2 separate regions of the Homo sapiens genome follow, and region 2 is linked to region 1. Evidence: promoter capture Hi-C in 16 types of primary human blood cells and fetal thymus (Javierre and others, 2016). All regions are on one chromosome and are shown on one strand. Each heading gives the region's core, a stretch centred on a gene start or on the middle of the fragment in contact. The rest is flanking DNA. Distances are from core to core; before and after follow the strand shown. Region 1 holds the start of HAUS1 (HAUS augmin like complex subunit 1). Region 2 holds the start of STARD6 (StAR related lipid transfer domain containing 6).

What was found. The method cuts DNA at HindIII sites, captures the fragments that hold promoters and counts their contacts. A CHiCAGO score of 5 or more calls a contact.
Region 2: the fragment with the promoter of STARD6 here is called in contact with the fragment with the promoter of HAUS1 in region 1 in 1 of 17 cell types (total B cells); the score reaches 5.7 in total B cells.

What each region holds. Positions count from the first base shown.
Region 1 is chr18:46,102,724-46,106,130 of GRCh38, reverse strand. HAUS1 (HAUS augmin like complex subunit 1) reads right to left here and starts at 1,746. Exons shown (of 9, transcript NM_138443.4): 1 at 1,690-1,746; 2 at 763-937. The coding sequence starts at 1,719. It also overlaps a transcript of ATP5F1A not described here. RefSeq lists an enhancer at 1,342-1,431 and a silencer at 1,822-1,921. The HindIII fragment of the contact is 1,925 bases long and covers 1,232-3,156 here.
Region 2 is chr18:54,355,270-54,359,181 of GRCh38, reverse strand. STARD6 (StAR related lipid transfer domain containing 6) reads left to right here and starts at 1,324. Exons shown (of 8, transcript NM_139171.2): 1 at 1,324-1,390; 2 at 2,738-2,821. It overlaps C18orf54 (chromosome 18 open reading frame 54), which reads right to left and starts at 1,276. Exons shown (of 9, transcript NM_001288980.2): 1 at 1,107-1,276; 2 at 312-408. RefSeq lists enhancers at 690-759, 261-772. The HindIII fragment of the contact is 3,120 bases long and covers 1-2,461 here.

The DNA.
Region 1 (3,407 bases), core at 497-2,996:
ATACGTAGTCATAGAGTAATTTCGTCCAAGTCTCACATTTCATGGCCACCACCTCAGGTGTCCTGATAGGTCCGTATGACTAAATCATGGAGACCGGAAACAGAAAAAACAGATAGGTAAGTAAAAAACCACAAGGCATCTTGTGTGTCAGACTAACAAGTTTAGACTCTTTTAAGGCTTACTGTTTTGCTATCAGAGTACCAATAAGATATTTAGTATAATAACATTTATTACTTAGAGAATTACTACTGGCCAGGCAGGGTGGCTCATGCCTCTAATCCTACCACTTTGGGAGGCTGAGGCAGGCGGATCACCTGAAGTCAGGAGTTCGAGACCAGCCTGGCCAATATTGTGAAACCCTGTCTTTACTAAAACACAAAAATTAGCCGGGTGTGGTGGTGCAGGCCTGTAGTCCCAGCTACTTGGGAGGCTGAGGCATGAGAATCACTTGAACCCAGGAGATGGAGGTTGCAGTGAGCTGAGATCACACCACTGCACTCCAGCCTGGGCGACAGAGCAAGATTGTCTAAAATATATACACACACACACACACACACACACACACACACACACACACACATACATATACATATATATAAACATAAAACAATAAAGTTACTACTATAACAGAGTGGAAGAAAATCTGGGAAAAATAAAGGAGCAAAACAAGTAGTCTACAGTAAATTAATCCTGTATACTTTAGTGTTATAAAATTTGGTTACCTCTATTTATTCTCGTTCAAAACTCTGGACTTAATCTCACCTTCTGACTCGTATTCACTTGCTTTCTGCTTCAAGTCCTCTATTACCAGGTAGACATCCCTGTCCCGGACCCTGTTGCGTTCTGAAAGGTGATGTAAAATCTCTGTGGTCCGTGGGTTCACCTCATACTGTGGAATAGGATGATCTCCAAATATTTTTTTTAACCACGCAGCAACCTAACCATTAAAAGAAAGACAAATATTATAAGCCTTGTTTACTGTAATGGCTCGATGAGAATATGACAAAGAAGTGATCAAAAGCAAACTAAATGCTTTCTGTGACTATTTTGGAGTCCTACTTCACAACCTCACTTGTCTTTAGGGAGATACTAGATATCAGGAAATAAAAAGTGAGCAAGTACACAAAGAAACGTACAATACTGAAAATTACCAGAGAACAATCCGTTCTTTTCCAAATCTGCAAAAGCGGTACAGGCTAACAATTTGCCTCGCTTGAAAAACCTTAAAGCTTAATAGACCATAATAATGCGAACGCATTATTAGACCGTGCATGGTCTGAAAAAAGCAATTGTCCCTCGATCACCAGAAGCCCCGCCGCGCCGGGAGGCTCCCAGTGTTGGGATGCAGGGCGCGGAAGCAGTTCAGATGTGGAAGCCGCCGGGCTGAGCAGCGAACCGGAAGGCGGGTTTGGCTTCATAAGTCCCACTCCAGAGTCTGTGGACACGGGCTGCTCAACGCCTCTCCCGGGCCAGATCCAAACAAGGGGAGGCCCGGGCAGGAAGGGAAAGGCCTTCAGGAGAGTCTAAGCACGGGGGGCTTGCAGATAGTGACGGCGGCACTAAAAGACGGATGTGTGGAATAGGGGAGAGAAAAGTAGACGTGGCGCGCACAGGAGACCCGCTGTCGGCGCGGGGGTGTCAAAAACGCGTTTTCCAGGAGGCCAACGATCCCCATTCCCGCCCCATCACCTGCGTTTCTCTCTCCTCCTGCGGCTCCATAGCTGCGGCTCCCGCCACTTTACTAGGAACTCCTAGCGGGAGATGCGCCCCGCTCACTCCCTAGGCCCCGCCCACACGCCGTTGGCACCCGCCCCTCGCCGGGCCCGGGATTTCTGGGAGTTGTGGTTTTACCTGAGACTCCTGGCCGTTGAGCCCCTGTGCAAGGCTGGTCGAAGGCTCTGGCATTGCAAGCCTCGCTTCGTTGCCACTTCCCAGCTCTTCCCGCCTTCCGCGGTATAATCAACACTACGAGAGATAGAGCCGCCTAGAACCAGGTTGTTTTTTCTTTCTTTTATTTTTATTTCTTGTTTGAATCACTTGTCGTTAAAAAAAAGTACTTGAAACGTTTGGTTCTTGCTTAGCAAGATGTTTGTGTTTCTTCCACATTGATTGCATCCACTCAGAATTTATATTCTACCCTGGCAATATGAGCTGAGGCAATCTTAACTTGATCCGTTAGTTCCCCCAACCTAAAAACTAGGGACATTTTTTTTTTTTGAGACAGAGTCTCGCTTTGTCGCCCAGGCTGGAGTGCAGTGGCATGATCTCGGCTCACTGCAACCTCTGCCTCCTGGGTTCAAGCGATTCTTCTGTCTCAGCCTCCCAAGTAGCTGGGACTACGGGCAAGCGCCACCACGCCTGGCTAATTTTTGTGTTTTTAGTAGAGACGGGGTTTCACCATATTGGCCAGGCTGGTCTCGAACTCCTAACCTCATGATCCGCCCACCTCGGCCTCCCAAAGTGCTGGGATTACAGGCGTGAGCCAGCGCGCCCAGCTTTTTTTTTTTTTTTTTTTTTTTTGAGATGGAGTCTCTGTTGTTCAGGCTGGAGGGCAGTGGCACGATCTCGGCTCTCGGCTCTCAGCTCACTGCCACCTCTGCTTCCCGGGTTCAAGCGATTCTCCTGCCTCAGCCTTCCGAGTAGCTGGGATTACAGGTGTGCATCACCACGCCCAGCTAATTTTTTGTATCTTAGTAAAGATGGGATCTCATCAGGTTGGCCAGCTTGGTCTCGAACTCCTGACTTCAGGTGATCCGCCCGCCTTGGCCTCCCAAAGTGCTGGGATTACAGGCACTGCGCCCGACCTTTTCTTTTCTTTTTGAGATGGAGTGTTTCTCTGTCGCTTAGGCTGGAGTGCAGAGTGACATGATCTTGGCTCACTGCGACCTCCAACCCCCGTCCCCAGGCTCAAGCAATTCTCCTGTCTCATCCTCTCTAGTAGCTGGGATTACAGGCTTGTGCTAGCATGCAGGGATAATTTTTTTATTTTTAGTAGAACGGGGGGTTTCACCACGTTGATCAGGCTGGTCTCAAACTCCTGACCTCAAGTGATCTGCCTGCCTCGGCCTCTCAAAGAGCTAGGATTACAGGTGTGAGCCAACACACCCAGCCTAAAATGATTTTCTTTTCAAAGGAAACTTACTAGCAAGCCAAGCTTATTTATTATTTATTTTATTTTATTTTTAGAGACAGGGTCTTGCTCTTTCGTCCAAGCTGGAGTATAGTGGTGATCACAGTTCACTGCAACCTTGAACTCCTGGGCTCAAGCAATCCTCCCGCTTCAGCCTCCTTAGTAGCTGGGACTATAGGCGTGCACCACCACACCCAGCTAACTTTTTGTATTTTTTGTAGAAAGAGGGTCTCACTATGTTGCCCAGGCTGTTTTTGAACTCCTGGCCCCAAGTGAT
Region 2 (3,912 bases), core at 75-2,574, 8.3 Mb before region 1:
AGAGAAAGCTGTTGTATTGGTCTCCGTAAGTGGGTGATAACATTTACTAGTTATTTCAACTCACAGGACAGACAAAAAGAAAATGCACAATTTAAGTTTCATTATGAAAAGTTTTCCAACTTTTCCCCAAAAGAGTATACAAAAGTAGAATCGTTCAATAAACCCCTATGTACTCATCATCCTGCTTCCAACAATCGCTGAACAGACCCCAATTGTAGCTAAAGTGGGTAGGGACCCACCCACTTCTCCCCACTTCAGCCACAGGATTATTTTGAACCCCACATATCTCATGCAAATCCCATATATCTTACCATTTCCTCCGTACAGGCTTCAGTTCGAATCTCCAAAAGAAAATCCATCACGCGGAAGAACAGAATGTTAAACTTATTGACAACAAATTTTAACTAACTTTGATTCAAAAACAGAATGTTCAGTGTTAAATAGCCAATGGGAATATCGCACAGGAAATTAAGAACAACTCTTGGAAATAGCTCTGTGACTGCTAAGTTAGGAAAGGGAACGTTTGTTTACTCGGCAGCAGAAAACCAGGAACCCACCGACCGGCCAGCGAAGGTCGCCCGTCTCCAGCAGTGCGCATCGTTCCCCTACCCCGGGCGCCCTGAATTCCAATTTTTCCAGTCCCAATCAGGCGACACCCTCCCTTTGGTGTTCCACCGCCCGTCAGTCACAGACACAGACAAGTTCTTCAGTGAGATGCTTTTCACTCCGAAACCATTTATTCAGCAGCCAGGGCGAGCGCAGCAATGGACTGAAGGAGAAGTGTTCCGAAGCGACAGCCCCAGAGCGCAAGCCCCTTCCTGTCGCCGCCTCAGGTCCGCAGACGCCCGTGTGAGCCCCCTCCGCCGCGTCCCGCGACCCTCCCTCGCCCAGGGGGCACTCCCCCTACAGTGTTCTTCCTTCCACAGAGACTCCACAAGCGCCCTCCCTCAGGAGACGTCTCCTCCTCTTTCCTCGCCACTCTCCTTTCGCCTTTTCTCGGCTGTCACAGGATGGGACAACCCTCGAAAAGACACCCTCCTTTCCGTCCTAACTCACCCCTAAGGCCCCAAAATAAAAATAAAGGAAAACAAAAACAAAAACCGCACACTTCCACAGCTCTCCGCCGAAAGCTCAGGCCTGTTACCCAACGCGAGACACCACAAAGCATCCCCAACCCGGACACCGCCCCGCCTCAGGCTCGGCTCACTCGCAGCTTCCTCCGCAGTCACAGCAGAGCTCGACACCCGCGCTCGCTTTCAAACCGCCCCAACATGGCGCCGGCCTGCGGTGCGCATGCGCGGCAGTGGGGCGCCGGGCGCGAGCGGAGATGAGGGAGCGGCCGGAGAAGAGAGGATGCTGTTGAGCGTTAGGTCGCGACCCCTGCTGGAAGGTGCTGTTTCTCCCTCCTTTCTGGGGCTGGGAATGGGGGGATGTGGGCTGCATCCAAGTCGCTGCCCCCCACGCCCTTCCAACCTCCGTCACAGCTATTCTCGGCCAGTTTGCGCGGGGACTTGCTGATCTCCCTTCAGCCGGCCCCGGGGTCTGCGGGAGGGGACTGGGTGGGGAGGGAGACTTAAGGGCGCTGGCGGCTGTCGTTCCGGTCGCTGAGAGTCTGCCCCACAGCTCCAGTTTTTCCAAGTGAGTTCAGCCTCCCCGCTTCCAGAGCATCCCCCGCCAAAAATAAGATATCGTCTCAGCTAGTAGGCAGTCCCCCCTCACCACTTCTTTCACTCCCTCTTCAGTGCCTTTCCTCTCACACCCCGGAGCCTCTCACACACAAAGCAGATGGGAGATTGGAGACCCGAGTTTAGCCAGGGATGGGATTTAACAAACTCCTAGGAAGCCTTGATTCCCAGGGAAGAATGGCAGTGACCCCGCACGGATTGGGGACCCAGTCAGGCAGCTCAGAAAGAGGGTCATTGTACAAACAGATGTAAAGACTCACTAACATGTGTGAACCTGTCTGTAAGTCTGGAAGGAATCCAGTTTCAACCAATTGGTGTATCAAAAAAAGAGGCCATCCCAATGTTGGTTTATGTTTATTTTCCACTGACCCTATGAGTGAAGATATCCTTGACCATGAGTCCATCTGAATATGTTCCAGCTCATCCGACGTTCCACCACCATGTAATACAATTGTAGTCTTACTGTTTGCACTTTCTTCTTTTTACCCTTTGTAGCCTACTAAATTTTACCTTCCCTTTTCTCTTAGCAAATGAAAAAGTCCGGAAGCTATAACGTTCAGTTTAGTGGTTAAACACAGGTCTATTGTGGCAGTAATAGTTGGTGATTTGAAAATAAGACATACCCTGCTAGTGGTATGTCCCAATAATCTTCAAAGTCTCTAGATCAATTAATATCAAGTAGGTTTCCAATAGGAAATCAAGAACGGTGTTTTATATGCTAAGACGAGCCCTGGTCGGGGATTAACAATCCTTGTTAATTGTTAGTGACGTAAGCTTAAAAACTTAAATTTTTGTATCCACGTTCCACCTAAGTGTCTTTTTAAACTGAGTTCCTTTAAAATAGTTTCTTAAAGATTCTTTTTATAAACAGTATCTTTTAAAGTTTTTTGTACTATATTTTTCTTTCATCTTGGGGCATATATGTAGCAAATGTTTCCTAATGAAGACAAAGTATAGATAAAGGACACTGAGAAGATATAAAGAAAATTATCAAATATATTGACCTAATTCATGGATCAAAATAATTCTACTTCTGCCTTGTTTCCTCACAGGTTAAGAGATATGGAGATTTCCACAAGGATTTGGAGAGGAGCCCCAGTAGTTACTAAAATTCTGCATTAGATCTGTCAGGAAAGGTAAAGAAACCAGGACTCTGCTAGGAAAGAGGAGGTTATAATAATGGTTTACTAAAACTTTTCAAATATAGAGACTATCAACTACCTGTTGTGCCTTGCTGGAGAATTAAATAAGAGAAAATAGATTTATGATCCAACCTGAAGAGTTTTAAGTGAGAGCTAAGGAAGAAATGTTCCAATAATTAAACTTTAAGAAGGTTTATTTAAGTGCTTAAGGAAGCAGATCTTTGGAGAGTTTTTTAAATGATGGATTTATATGTGTCCATTTTTTTAAAGAGAAACTAACTATTTTGATAACCTAGTATAGGGCTCCACACTGTTTAAAGCATTTTTACATATATTAACTCAACTAATCCTTATAATGATTCGGTGAGATAGATATTATTATCCCCATTCTATAGATATGGAAGTTGAAGTTCAAAGGTTAAGCAATTTATCCAAAATAATATAGCTGTACTAAGTGACAAAGTCAGGATTTGAATCCAGTTCTGTTTTCACCTTACCTGCCAGCTTCCCCTAACTGAAAGCTGGATGATGACCCGAAGGACCAGTGAGACTGCAGCTTCCGGAACTCATTCACAGCAGTAATAGTTATGTCTAGTATCTTACTCAACTGTTGTTGCTACATCTACCACAGTGCCTGTCTCAGTCCTTTTGGGCTGCCATAAGAAATTACCAAAGACTGAATGACTTGTAAACAATAAATTTATTTCTCAGAGTTCTGGATCCTGGAAGTCTGAGATCTGGGTGCCAGCATGGTTAGGTTCTGGTGAGGGCCCTCTTCTGGTTGCAGACTGCTAACTTCTGGCAGTGTCCTCACATGGAAGAAGGGGCCATTGAGCTCCCTGGGGTCTCTTTTGTGAGGGCACTAATCCCATTCATAAGGGCTTTGCCCTCATGACCTAATCATCTCCTAATATCACCCTGGGAGTTAGGATTTCAACATATGAATTTTAGGGAGACATAAACATTCAGTCCATTGCAGTTTCTAACTTCAAGCAGGGTTCAATGTGTTTAAATTGAGTTGATTTAAACTTGATCCTATCTGAGGAGGTGACATTTAAGCAAAGATACCTATGAAACAGTCAGTT